4 separate regions of the Homo sapiens genome follow, and regions 2, 3 and 4 are each linked to region 1. Evidence: promoter capture Hi-C in 16 types of primary human blood cells and fetal thymus (Javierre and others, 2016). All regions are on one chromosome and are shown on one strand. The core of a region is centred on a gene start or on the middle of the fragment in contact, and the rest is flanking DNA. Distances in the headings are between cores, read along the strand shown. Region 1 holds the start of WNT5A (Wnt family member 5A). Region 2 overlaps ERC2 (ELKS/RAB6-interacting/CAST family member 2). Region 3 overlaps ERC2 (ELKS/RAB6-interacting/CAST family member 2). Region 4 overlaps ERC2 (ELKS/RAB6-interacting/CAST family member 2).

Region 1 (3,084 bases), core at 190-2,689:
ACTTTTTGGGGGGAAGAGGGGTTATTTGCTTCCAGGAAACATCTTAATTTCAATTCTAACCTTATTTTCTAAGAAACTTAAAATGGGAAAGACCAGAAAAATGGAAATAGGAATCGAAGCTTGGAGGACAGATAAGAAAAATTGTTTAGAAAATAAAAACTTATGTTGCAGGAAGAAACGTTAACTTTTCGTAAAAGTGAACTCTCAGTGACCCTCGGAGTGTGTGATTCGGCTTTAACATACAACTGACAATTAAAACAAACAAGAGTTCGCAAACTGGCCCCCGCCTGCTCTCCCAAAGCGGAGGCCCAAGTGTTTTCTAAAGGACAAGGCGGACTCCGCTCAGGGGGCCGGGGAGCGCTGTCCCGGAGTACGGGATTACAGCCACTACCACCACAACTCCCCGCCCCCACCACTGCTGCAAAGTGCCTGAGCTCACCCAGTGGCGGCTAATAATGCTAATAACGCGACCCCGCTCCCCGCGCCGGGGTGCGCGCTGGCCCCCCGCCAGGCACTCTTAAAGGCAAAGGGGCCTGAAGCGCTCGAGTTACTCGGCCAAGGCAAGCCTACAATCTGGCCTCCGTCGGTGCGGGGGGGTGTCGGGGAAGGTGTACGCCGCTCTGGAGTAGTTGGCCCCTAGTTCCTCTGCGGGTTCTCTCAACCAAGGAGTCCCTTTCCCCATCCCGAGCCCCGGCCACACACCGTCCCGGTGCCCGCGCAGTGGGCGCTTGGTAAATATTTGTTGAATTGAATCATTATCCTGTTACTGAAATATACATAGTAAATTACACTCGATGTTCTCAGAGCAAAAGGAAAGTCGTCAGTGAACCGCACTCAGTTTGTCTACTATCGCTCTTCCCCACTTTTTCTCAAAAATCAAAATTGTTTGCAGAACGGGTGGTGCGACCAGAAGTGATCTCCTGGGACACTGAGGCAGTGCGCCCGGCGTGGAGGGCGAAGGGGTAGGGGTTCCTGCCAGCGACGCTGGAGTTCCAGCTTCTTCAGGCGGTTGGGGAAATGGAGGGATAGGAAGAGGCGAAGGGAACTCAGTTAACTTCCAACAGGGGGTGGGGGGAAGTAAAGAAAAAAAGTGGCAGCGCACTGAACACCTACCTTCATGGCGAGGGGGAGGGGGCGCGGGGAGGAAGTCGCCACCCGAGCGAGCGCAGCCGAGGAATCCGAGCGGAGCGACCGGGTTAAGCCTGGGGGGACGGTCAGGAGCAGGGCTGCGGAGTCCTCCGGCGCGCGTCCGGCGGGCGCAGTGAACCGGAGCTGAAGCGGGCACTGGCGCCCGGGCCTGGACTCCCGAGTTGGGGCAGAGCTGGGATGCGCCCAGGAATGGAGGGGGCGCGGACGCGCGCGAGCCGGCAGCAAGGGCAGGGCCTGGTCGGGGCGCAACTAGGGAGCCGCCGGTCCGGCGAGGGCGCGCAGGCAACTGTTCCACGGAGAGGCGCTCCGTTTCCAACGTCCATCAGCGACGGCGGTAATTAGGGCTTTCCAACCCCAAATGTGGGCGTGATTGTGCAAAAGACCTTACGACAAATAATAATAAAAAGAAATTCTTCACAAGAGGGTGAAAAAAATGTACCACTACTCAACTGTGGCCCGGGGCGGGGGAAGGGGGGCGATCTGTGCGCCCAGGTGCCCCCAGTTCATTCACACCACAGATTCTGCAAACTCTTGGCGGCTCACGCCTCCTGATCTCCAGCTCCTCCTCTCTGGGTCTGTAGCCGAAACGTCTGCTTCCAGACGCTGATCCTGCAGCCGCGAGTTAGTGTGGACGTCTCTGTACACACACAGACACACACCCCAACACACACACCCCCGCTGCAGCTTTGGGGCCACAGAACAATCAGGCGCGCATGGCTTTTTCTCCGGGAGATGCCGCTGAAAACGCACAAGTCGCCATCTGAGCTGCAAGAGTCAGCCCCAAATTGTGTCCTTTCATTTTAGGGTTCGGCAAAAACGGGGAGCAAAATAGGTGAAAGTCGCCCCGGAACTTATTGCTGTGCGGTGAGCTGGAGGGGTGCGACTAACCCAGGGGAGACGCGGGCTCCCCCCCCCCACCACGTATCCCGTTCTTTCTCTCTTCGGGTTGATCTCTCTTTTCCCCGTTTTTCCAGGGCGAAGGGCGAAGAGCAGCGAGTGCACCGCGGGCGCGAGGCTGGGGAAGGGCGAGAGCTCGGAGCTCCGCGGCGGCGACTCAGCTCCGGCGGTCCATGGCCGGCGAAGCTGCCCACCTCCTCGTTTGGCGCCCGGGTCCGAGGGGCGGGAGAGCGGGCCGGCGGGAGGCGGGCGGTCCCGGGCACAACGGCGGCGGCGGAAGGGCTCGCTGGGCAGCTGCCGCACGGACCCCGGCTCTGGGCGGCGGAGGCGGCTCCGTGGAGCTCGCAGCAGATTTCCACGCGATCCTGTGCCCCGCAAACAGACTGACCGACCGCGGGGACGCGTCCCCCCCTCCCACCCCCCAGCCCTTCTGGCCAACTGCCTTACTCTCTCCCTCCCTCTCTCCAGACTCCTCTTTCCCCTGGTGTTCTCAGAAGGAAGAAAAAAAAAAAAAGAAAGAAAGAAAGAAAGAAAAAAGTTCTTTAAAGTTTCAGAACTAGGGGCGGCTGGAAAGAGAGAGGGAAGGGGGGGGAAGAAAGAAAAAACTCAACTTTGCTATGCGCATGCGTGGTGAGGCCGGCCTATGACAAACTCTGCAGGATTTTAAAGCCGTACTACGGGCTGGGGTGCCGGGAGGCGGGGTACACTCTCCTTGTCTCCCCTTCTCTAAGTTCCCCATCCCCCGCGGCATCTGCTGAAAGAGAGAGGTCCACTCCGCAGCCGCTGCCTGCCTGCCGCCTGGTTGTCTGCGCTCCTTCCAGAGCCACCGACCGGCGGGAGGCTGAACCCCAACTTCCCCGCCTGGACCCCTTGGCTCGCCCGCGTATCCCAGACCGCTCCCACTGGGGCTCCACGGAGACTGCTGCCTTGACATGGAACCTCATGGGGGACCTCCTCATTCTTACCTCTGGGGGAGGATACTTAAGCACTGGGGCTGATGGATAGGGTTAGGCGCTCACCTCCTGCAAAGTCCCCAGA
Region 2 (3,084 bases), core at 360-2,859, 220 kb after region 1:
ATCTACTGCTCCTATTGCATATTTTGTGCAGTTTTTCTTTTCTTTTTTCCTGCTAAAGTCAGGGGAGGGAAATTATGTTGCTAAGTTGCTTTCTGTGGCCAGGCGCAGTGGCTCATGCCTGAAATCTCAGCACTTTGGGAGGCAGAGGCAGCCGGGTGGCTTGAGCTCGGGAGTTAGAAACCAGCTTGGGCAACATAGTGAAACCCCACGTCTACAAAAACAAAATACAAAAAATAAGCTAAGTGTGGTGGTGCATGCCTGTAGTCCCAGCTACTTGGGAGGCTGAAGTGGGAGGATCACCTGAGCACAGAAGGTTGAGGCTGCAATAAGCTGTGATCATGCCAATGCACTCCAGCCTAGGCAACAGAATGAGATCTTGTCTCAAAAAAAAACATTGCTTTCTGCTGCCACCTTAGGAACCTGGGGAATCCCCTGAAGGGTTATGGACAGTGACTGTAGCCAGAAGCAGCATCTCCCCTGTTCTACTGTCAGCCAGTACAGCCCATGAGGAAGGATTATTTATAAAGAAAGAGTTCTATGTGCTCTGCTCATAATGTTAGGATCCTAACCGACATTGTGAGATGGAGCCTCCTGTTAACATAAAAAATAATAACCAATGCCTGCTTGGCCCTTGCTGTGTGAACAACACTGTGTTGGCATCATCTCATTAAGTCAGTCTGACATCAACCCTGCGATGCAGGCAGGGGTGGGGATTGTATTTAAAATCTTTAATAGCTGCTATGACAGATGCAGAAACCCATGAGAACCAAGAGTGACACAGTTGCACATGCCCTGAATATTTGCCTTGGTTGAAGCTTCTTATTACTCCCACTTTACAGATGAAGAAGATGAGGCTTAGGGATTAAGCAACTAATCAGAGCTCAAATAACTGGTAGATCTGAGGCTCTGACTGTGCAGCCTCCTTTGTAACCAGTGCATCCCACTGCTCAGATCCTTAAGGACCAGCCCCTTCATAAACAAATCAAGACTGACCTGGGAATGGGCTCTGATCACCCACTCCAATCATAGCTTTAAAGAAAAGCAGCTCACTTTTGATTTTAAAATTCCCTCTGAAAACGATGGAACTCAGACACATTAGAAAATCTTAATGGAGCCCCAAAGAAGTCCATGTTACTGACCATCCCCTAATATAAATTCAAAAGTCATTATGCACAGTCCACACTAGCGTTTAATGCTTCAACCAATGAGACAGCTAACAGCTAGGCTAACACATTAGCAACTCCAGACAACCAAGGAATTTCTAACATCCTGAGCACCATTGCTAGTGGCAGAGTCTGGGGGAAGGGAAAGGCCCTAGATGTTTCCACCACAAAGTTACTTAGTTAAGCGCAGGTCTGTTTAATTAAGTCGTGGGCAGCACATGCTATACTTAGCTTTTAAACACTTGTAAAGTCCTCTTCATTCATTTATCTTACTTGTCACTGACAAGCTCTTCAAGGACTGTAACAGTATGCAGAGCATGAAGAGCCTGGGTAAACAACACATATTTTATGTGGAGTCTAAACTGTTTCAACTCAGAAAGTCAATAGAGGGTCTCTGAAAAAAACTCCAGACTCTTCTACTACAGTGTGGAAACATTCTGTGCATGGTCTGTTAGGAGTTTCTTTAGAAAGTGAACTCCAAATAAAATCCTAATTTTTTAACCCAAAGGTAAAAAGACAAAAATAAATAAATAAATAAATAAATGGAGGAGTGGAAGAAGAAAGGTGGGAGAGAATGAAGGAGACTGGGAATAAATAAAGGAAGGAAGAAAGGAGGGAGAGAGTGAGGGAGGGAAGAGAAAGAGGAGAGAGAGAGAGAAGAGGAGAGGTAAGGAGAAGAGAGGGAAGAGAAGACAAGAGAAGAGAGAAAAAGAAAGGAAGGAGAGAGGAAAGACAGTGTTTGCAGGTATTGAGATTCGGACTCTAGAATTGTGCTGACAAGTGAAGACAACATTTTCATTCCATTCATAATCCAACAAATATTTATTATCACTGGTTTAGGGAGAACTGGCATCATCAAAACAGCTCCCTAACTAATGAATGGGCAAAACAGCCTCGGGGTATCGCCTAACAGAATTGGCCAATAGGCTAGAAACTGGAGCGTGAACATTCTAGTAGAACTCTAGGAGCATGTGAGATTCTAGGAGAATGTGAGGTTGAGTAAAAGCCAGCAGCGCCCTCCGAAAGAGGCCGTGAGAGTCTTAAACAGGGCTATGAAGAGAGGGGTTCACATACCCTTGGAGGCAAGATAATTCACAGGGAGTAAATGAACTGCTCAACAGTTACATATTTACTCTAAAATATATTAAAATAAATTATAACAAGCACATCAAAGAGAGGTTTCATAGAAATTATGTCTTAGGATGTGGAAAACACTGTGAAGGTAATCCTCAAAATGTCTGAAGCTTGAGACACCACCATCAGAAGGGAAGGGTAAAGCAAAGGAGAACGGACTGGGCAAGCAGAGGAGACTAGAAACTCAGGTCAGCCCAGAGAGAATGAACATGTCCTGAGAACTGTGGGAGGACGGAAGGACGCTCTCCTTCAAGGGCTTTGACCTTCGCGCAGAAGTGGAAGCAAATGCAATCTGGGCCTGCTCCCAGTTCTAAAGCAGAATGGAAGGGCATAAACCTCCCAGCACCTCACCTCCTTCAAAACAAAACAAATGACCCCCCAAAGGGGGAGAGAAGGGATGGGGTGAGCCATGCAAAACATGTGGTGGGGCTGTGTTGGCCAGCACCGAGCACAGTTTTGACTCCAGGAGGTGTGGAGACAGCCAGGAGAGGCTTGGCAGCTGGGAGGGAGAACGAGACAGGGAGAGGCAGCCAGGCCCTTGGAGGGGGAACAAATCCCTCTCCCCAGCTGGTCTCACGCTTGGGTGAGACAACTGGAGAAAATGTAAACATGCTCATTAGCAGTTTTCCAATCAGTTGAAAAACAAATGGGAAGAGAAAAATGGCAGGCGATTGTTCCAAATACCAACTCTCTGCCACATCTCCTCAGGTGTTTATCAGAGTTGCCCGCTGTGCTGTCCTCCCTTTCGTCTGGATCACAACACCTTTACTAGCTTTACACGGAACAC
Region 3 (3,084 bases), core at 178-2,677, 190 kb after region 1:
TCCATCTTTCTGATAACTTGGGTGATCCTCTGAGATAAAGCATGTATAATATTGTGATGTCCCAGGTGTAAGACAATTGTCACATAAGATCACGCATGTCTCTCTGGCACCTGCTAACACTGACAGTGCTAACTACCAAAGGCACCTCTCTCCCTACTCTCACCCATAGCAGACTTTTGGGCTGGCTGGTTTCGCTGACGTTTACTGAGCTGCTTATTATTATTATTATTATTATTATTATTATTATTATTTTAGCATTCAGCTTTTCATATCCCTCCCACCCATTGGTATCTGTGTCTCAGATTAATTTTCACCAGATGTGAGTGTCTGGACTTCTCCAAGATTTGTTATTTTCCCTCCATGTTCCTAACCTTCTTCAGGCCATTTGTGTGATTTCTCTGACCTCAACTAGTGTTTCCAACACCTTCCAAATTAGTGTCATCTGTGACTTTCCTTCACATGCTCTTTTCTCCCCTTTACAGATCATTAATAAAGAGGTTAAACAAGACCAGACCAACAGCATACTCTAAAGCAAATGACAAAAGGGTGGGAGAGCCAGCATGCTCCCTGTGCGCCAGCCCTGGCACAGGAAGGATGTAATGTAATGTAACAACACTCTGCTAGACGCCTCCCGCCTCTGGCCCAGTGGTAATTTATCACCACTGTTTGTTTATGATTTCTCAGCCAGATTTCAGGTCCTCAGAGTGTGGTCATATCTAAGCCAACATGCATTGCTCTGCCAGGTAACCCTTATGAGCTCCAGAGAAACCCACAAGAACTTATTTACTGCCCTCCAATCTCCTTAAAAGCTTCTACCTTGGCCCCCAAGTCCATCACCCTTGAGAGCAGAAAGAGGTGGACTGAGACATTATTATCCTTTTCTCTCTTCCAATTCATTAGCTCGCAATTAATTATTTGTTAAATATTCATTGGCTTTCATGTTACTCATTAGATTTTTCTTTAAGCCGAAAGAAACCCTCTGCTATAAACAGGGACTAATTCATACTCTCCAACAATCAAACTTTCCTTTGCTATACCCAAGTGTTATAAAAATCAAAGGTAACTGGAGAGGGTATGTTTATAGGGTAAACATGCTTTAAGTAAGGCCTGCTATGTAGGTGGCTTGGGTGTAGCTATGGCCATAGGAATAGATTACCTTTCTTTTGCCTTTTCTTTTACCTCCCAAATTCAACAACCCCAGTATCAACCACTTTCCTCTGTTTATGGATACAGTACACTTTCCTGAGCCCAGAAGTAACAATAATAGTGATATACTGATATTCTACCCAGGGTTGAATACTCACTGTGCACCAGGCATGACTTGGCATCTTACTCAGCTCATCACAGCCCTGGGGGTGTCACAACCTTCCTCAAAGAGAAAATGGAGGGGAGAGACGGAAGGTGACTTACCCACGATCATCCAAACCTAGGTCTATCTGAATCCAGAGACCACACTGTTAGCCACCCCACCATAGATGAGGGTCTTCTTCACTTTTTCTGAGTCACTGGCCCCTCTATCTGCTGAGGAACATAAATAAATACTCTCTTTGTGGGGATGTGCATACATCCACATTGAAGCCTATTAACCATGTCAGGGGATTTGCAGAGCCTCCAGGGCTTATGGACGCCTGCTTGAGAATCTATGTACTACTCTAAGCTCCTCGAGGGTAGGAATCACACTTTGTTCACTACCTTGACTCAGTACTGAGATGTATATCCAGTACATCTCCAGTACTAAGATGAAGAAATATTTTTTGAATAAATTACTAATTGCAAAGACTGTGAATAGGATATTCAAGTTGAAGCTCTAAACAGCAGCTTTGTAAGCCTGAATAGAAGATATAAATATACAGACACCTTCCAGAGGAGTAGAAGAGCAAAATAAAAGGAGGAAGTGGGGACAGAGATAAAGCAAAAACATCTTACTTTGCCCAGGAATCGATTTTGCAATTGGAAGTAGGCAGAGACATTGTCATGGTGGTTCTAAAACACCTCGTAGCTACTTCTGGTTAGTTCTCATATTAACTCCTGAAAAGAGATTATTGAAAGCTTCTTCTGCAGAAAAATAATATACTTAGAATTTCAAGATGAGAAGTCAATTATCAAGAGCAATCAAAATCTCATGTTGTACCCCTTAACTGACAGAATTCTTGATCCCTGGAGATCTCAGGGGGAACTACAAGAGCCAATGGCAACTTCCTTCTCTCTAGGTCCCTCTAGTCCCTAGGTCCCTTTCAACCTCCTACAACTCTGGGGTTTTTGTTTTTCCACAGATTGCTACCCCTTACATGTCTTCTTATTCTATAACTACTGATTTTGCTTTGCAATCTCCTTTTCTTCAAGAGTTGGAGGAGCCACCCACTCTTGAAGTTAGACTTCAGACGTGCTTTAAACTTGTCAGCCTGCACATTACTGCAATAAGAGGCCAGAGATTCCCCTGCTGATATGCAGGAACATGGAAAACAGCCAAGGTCAAAAGCCTGCCCTTCCCTTGGCCAGAGCGACTGGACATCTGGGGAAACCAGAACTCTGAGTTCCCTCTCAGTGCCCCCACCACCACCAATAATGGCCTGCTCCAGCTTTGACACCCAAGGTAGAAATCTGGAGGCATTCTCAATTTTGTCCTTTGTCTTACCTCCCCATCCAAGTCCTCCTGGCTTCACCTTCCTAGTCTTATCTCCAATTTATCCACTTGTCTGCATCTCCACTACTGCTGCCCTGGGTCAGTGCCATCAATTCTCTCACAGATCATGGAACAGCCTCTACTTCTGCTCTTCCTGCCACGACAATTCATCCTCTACACAGCAGCCAGGGTTGTTCTACAACATAAATCAAATCATGTCATGTCCCTGCTTAAACTCCTCTGATGTCTGCTCAGTTTTCTTAGGCTTAAAATCTAAACTCTCTACCTCGCCATAAAAGGCCCTACGTTTTCTGGTCCCTTCCTTCTTCTCCATCCTCATCTCACTGTTTTGTGCTCTACCCAGAGTTATGGTCTTCAAGCCTCTTCAGCTTATAAACTCCTTCCCACCTCCAGCTTTTGCATGCCTCCCGGGACCACCTCCCAAATGCACGCCTTGGCAT
Region 4 (3,084 bases), core at 162-2,661, 170 kb after region 1:
CATGACATCCCCTGGGGCTGGGCTATTCTCCTCTGCCGCCTCTGTACCTGGCCAACTCCTACTTATCCGTGAGGCCACAGCTCAAGGGTCACTACTTCTGGCTTCTGAATCTCGGTATGGCGTCTCTCCCATATTTGCTCTAGGCATCTAGTGCCTCCTCCACTACAGCACTTATTATACTATCCTGAAATTGCTTGCTTTTCTGTGCTTCCTTCATTAGCCTGGAGTAATGGAGCCTGGAAGATCTATGAGTATGGAACTCACCTTATTCATTACTGCATCATTAGCTTCTCATGCAAACCCCATCACATTATGGAAGCTCAGTTCATATTTGTTAAATGTCTGAACAATGTGAATGTTCATACTCAGACTTTCCATTGGCTGAATTTGAGGTCACAATTTCTGTACATGCAACTGAGAGCAAATTGGCACATCAACCCGCACCCCCACCTCCAGATAAAATGTAAGCAATAGCATTTGTTCCACCTGATATTCCTTTTGGCTCCTGATCTTTATGTCCAAGTTATAAAAATGTCTCCATCACAACTTCCACCCCTGGAATTGAGTGCCTGGTGCAGGGAAGGGGCACAATCTTTGACACAATCTAGAGCAAGTGAGACCTCCAAGGATTTGAAGAGAAATGTAAGAGTGTGCTCTGAGCTTTGGCTTGCAGAACCTGGGGGGTGGGGCGGGGGTGGCGTGGGAGTCTCCTATTTCCTTGACCATCCAAATTTGATTTTTTTTCTCCTTGCTCAGCACCTAGTGGTGTAGTATTCCAAGGGCATTAAAACAAGGTTAAAGGGCTTTATGTGATGAAAGGCATTCTTAGTTGTGAGTGTTTAGCAGGAGTTTAAATATCAGCAATTTTGTATATGGAAACATATTAGCTTCATATTTAATTGGGGTCGTGGTGCACTGTGAAGTACAGCACTTATGTGCACAGACTTGGGTATGATGTCCCACAGACATGGGTTTGAGTCCCAGCCCTGCCATTAATAAGCCATGTGACACCTGCCCAGGTAGCTAACCTCTGTGAGCCTCAATCAGGTCCCTCACCTATAAAACAGGGATAATAACAATAAAAGCATAAATCCTTGTAGGGCTGTTGTGAAGAACAAGGTAAGAAATGCACATAAAGTACCGTGCACAGCACCTAAAATGAGGTAAGCACCTAGAAAATGCAAGCTGGTCTTCTTCATATTATAACATTGGGCCCTTACCCTGCTCCAGTTGCTAGAAAGTAAAAAATGCACCAGCTTGTCCTGTGGGCCAAGTCTCACACACAGATGTTGGTTCAACTCGTCTGTGCATTAGTTTTCTACTGCTATCCTAACACATTACCACACACTTAGTGACTTTAAAAAATATCTATTTATTATCTCACAGTTCCGTAGGTCAGAATTTTGGCACAACACGGCTCAGTTCATTCTCTGCTGAGTTTCATGAGGCCAAAATCACCAGGTGTCAACAGGGCTGCAATCTTTTTTGCAGCTCTGAGGCTGAATTTACTTTCCAGCTCATTCAGGTCACTGGCAGAATTCAGCTCCGTCTGGTTGTGGGACTTTCCTGGCTGGCAGTTGGCTAAGCATCATTCTCAGCTTCTAGAGGCCACCTGCAATCCCTGGCTCATAGCCCCTTTCCTTTTATCACAGCCTCGTCTCTCCTCTCCTCCCCCTTGGGACCTCTCTGCCTCTTCTGCTGCCTAATCTCTCCCCTTCCCTCTTCCACTGCACCACTCTGACTCTTAGACTTTCTTTCTCGACTTTTAAGGGCTAATGTCATGACATTGGGTCCGTTTACATAATCCAGGATACTCTCTCTATTTTAAGATAAGCTGCAAAGTCCCTTCGTCCAGTACCTGGTTAGTGTTTGAATAAAGCATGGGCATCTTGGAAAGGCATCTTTAGATTCTGCCTATCACATCTTATTTGCTGCATTTTAAAATCTGAAACAAAACACATCTCAACACAGCACAGTCATTACGTGTTTAGTTTGGGCTATTTGTGGAGTTGGCTTAGCTGAGAAGAAAAACGTGAAAAGGTTATTTAAAAAAAAAAAGTGGGCCCACCTCCTTTCCTGGGAGACTAATGCTTTGTTAAATATGGACTTTTCAATCCATTTATCAGGGAAATTCCCTTAGATTTTCCCTTTTTCACTTTCTGTTTAATAAAGTCCATACCATTTTAGGGTATTTAAGAATTTAAATATTGCAAAGCTAAGGTTTTTATATATGAAGCTGAACTCCAGATTTCAAACTGTCAGCCAGCAGGGTCTGAACAGGGAGGACTCTTGGGGGCAATCCTGCATTAACACAAACAGGACAGCGTGGGCTGGGAAACTCAAGACTCAGATTGGAATGTATTTGCCAATTGGCAACCAATCCTGTTCTTATCAGCTTATCAGATTTATTTCATGTAGAAAATTAAAATTCTGGGTCTCTATTGTGCAGAAATACTTGCACATACGCCCAAAGGCATATACACAAAATTATTTACTGCAGTCTTGTTTGTGATAGCAAAACATGGCAAACTATCTAAATGCCCATTAACTGTGAGTGGCTAAAATAAACCTTGGCAGGGGAATTCCATGAAATACTTCTGTCGCTATTAGAAAATAAGGTAGGTCTATATATATTGAAACGGAAAGTTTACCAAGACATACTGTTAAGTGAAAAATGCAAATCACAGAAGAAGCTGAATAATATAATCTAATTTGTGTTAAATGAATTATGTGTGCATTATTTGTAAATGCAGACAAAGGACATATCTACCAATTAATTGGGGTCTATTGCTTCTGGGGAGAAGTGTAGAGTTGGGGGACAGAGTGAAGGAGACATTCAGGTTTTAAGTTGTCTACTTCAATATAGCTTAAATATTTTATAATGAGAATTGAGTCATGAATGTAGATTATTTTAAAGAATTGGGTGAAAAATACCATGTTAGACATATTACTAAGGGTAGGGGCATATAGGTTATCTATCAATGGGACTTGAAATATGATGTTATTTGATGTTTCAGAAATTAAGGCCGGCCAAACAGCTAAAATGACTAACCTCTGAGCAATTCAGCTTAAATTCCATGCTTA

The links. The method cuts DNA at HindIII sites, captures the fragments that hold promoters and counts their contacts. A CHiCAGO score of 5 or more calls a contact.
Region 2: a fragment that was not itself captured here is called in contact with the fragment with the promoter of WNT5A in region 1 in 2 of 17 cell types (fetal thymus and M2 macrophages); the score reaches 9.5 in fetal thymus.
Region 3: a contact is called between a fragment that was not itself captured here and the fragment with the promoter of WNT5A in region 1, in 1 of 17 cell types (fetal thymus). The highest score is 5.4, in fetal thymus.
Region 4: a fragment that was not itself captured here is called in contact with the fragment with the promoter of WNT5A in region 1 in 1 of 17 cell types (fetal thymus); the score reaches 7.2 in fetal thymus.

What each region holds. Positions count from the first base shown.
Region 1 is chr3:55,485,867-55,488,950 of GRCh38, forward strand. WNT5A (Wnt family member 5A) reads right to left here and starts at 1,440. Exons shown (of 5, transcript NM_003392.7): 1 at 1,114-1,440. The coding sequence starts at 1,119. It overlaps WNT5A-AS1 (WNT5A antisense RNA 1), which reads left to right and starts at 1,752. Exons shown (of 2, transcript NR_046656.1): 1 at 1,752-2,013; 2 at 2,124-2,442. RefSeq lists an enhancer at 3,064-3,084. The HindIII fragment of the contact is 5,010 bases long and covers 118-3,084 here.
Region 2 is chr3:55,707,056-55,710,139 of GRCh38, forward strand. All of the region lies in intron 15 of ERC2 (ELKS/RAB6-interacting/CAST family member 2), which reads right to left. Among named protein-coding and RNA genes, the nearest start is that of ERC2-IT1, 49 kb to the left of the region's middle. The HindIII fragment of the contact is 1,592 bases long and covers 814-2,405 here.
Region 3 is chr3:55,676,229-55,679,312 of GRCh38, forward strand. The region is part of intron 17 of ERC2 (ELKS/RAB6-interacting/CAST family member 2); the gene reads right to left. Among named protein-coding and RNA genes, the nearest start is that of ERC2-IT1, 18 kb to the left of the region's middle. The HindIII fragment of the contact is 1,240 bases long and covers 808-2,047 here.
Region 4 is chr3:55,659,785-55,662,868 of GRCh38, forward strand. The region is part of intron 17 of ERC2 (ELKS/RAB6-interacting/CAST family member 2); the gene reads right to left. Among named protein-coding and RNA genes, the nearest start is that of ERC2-IT1, 1.9 kb to the left of the region's middle. The HindIII fragment of the contact is 4,168 bases long and covers 1-3,084 here.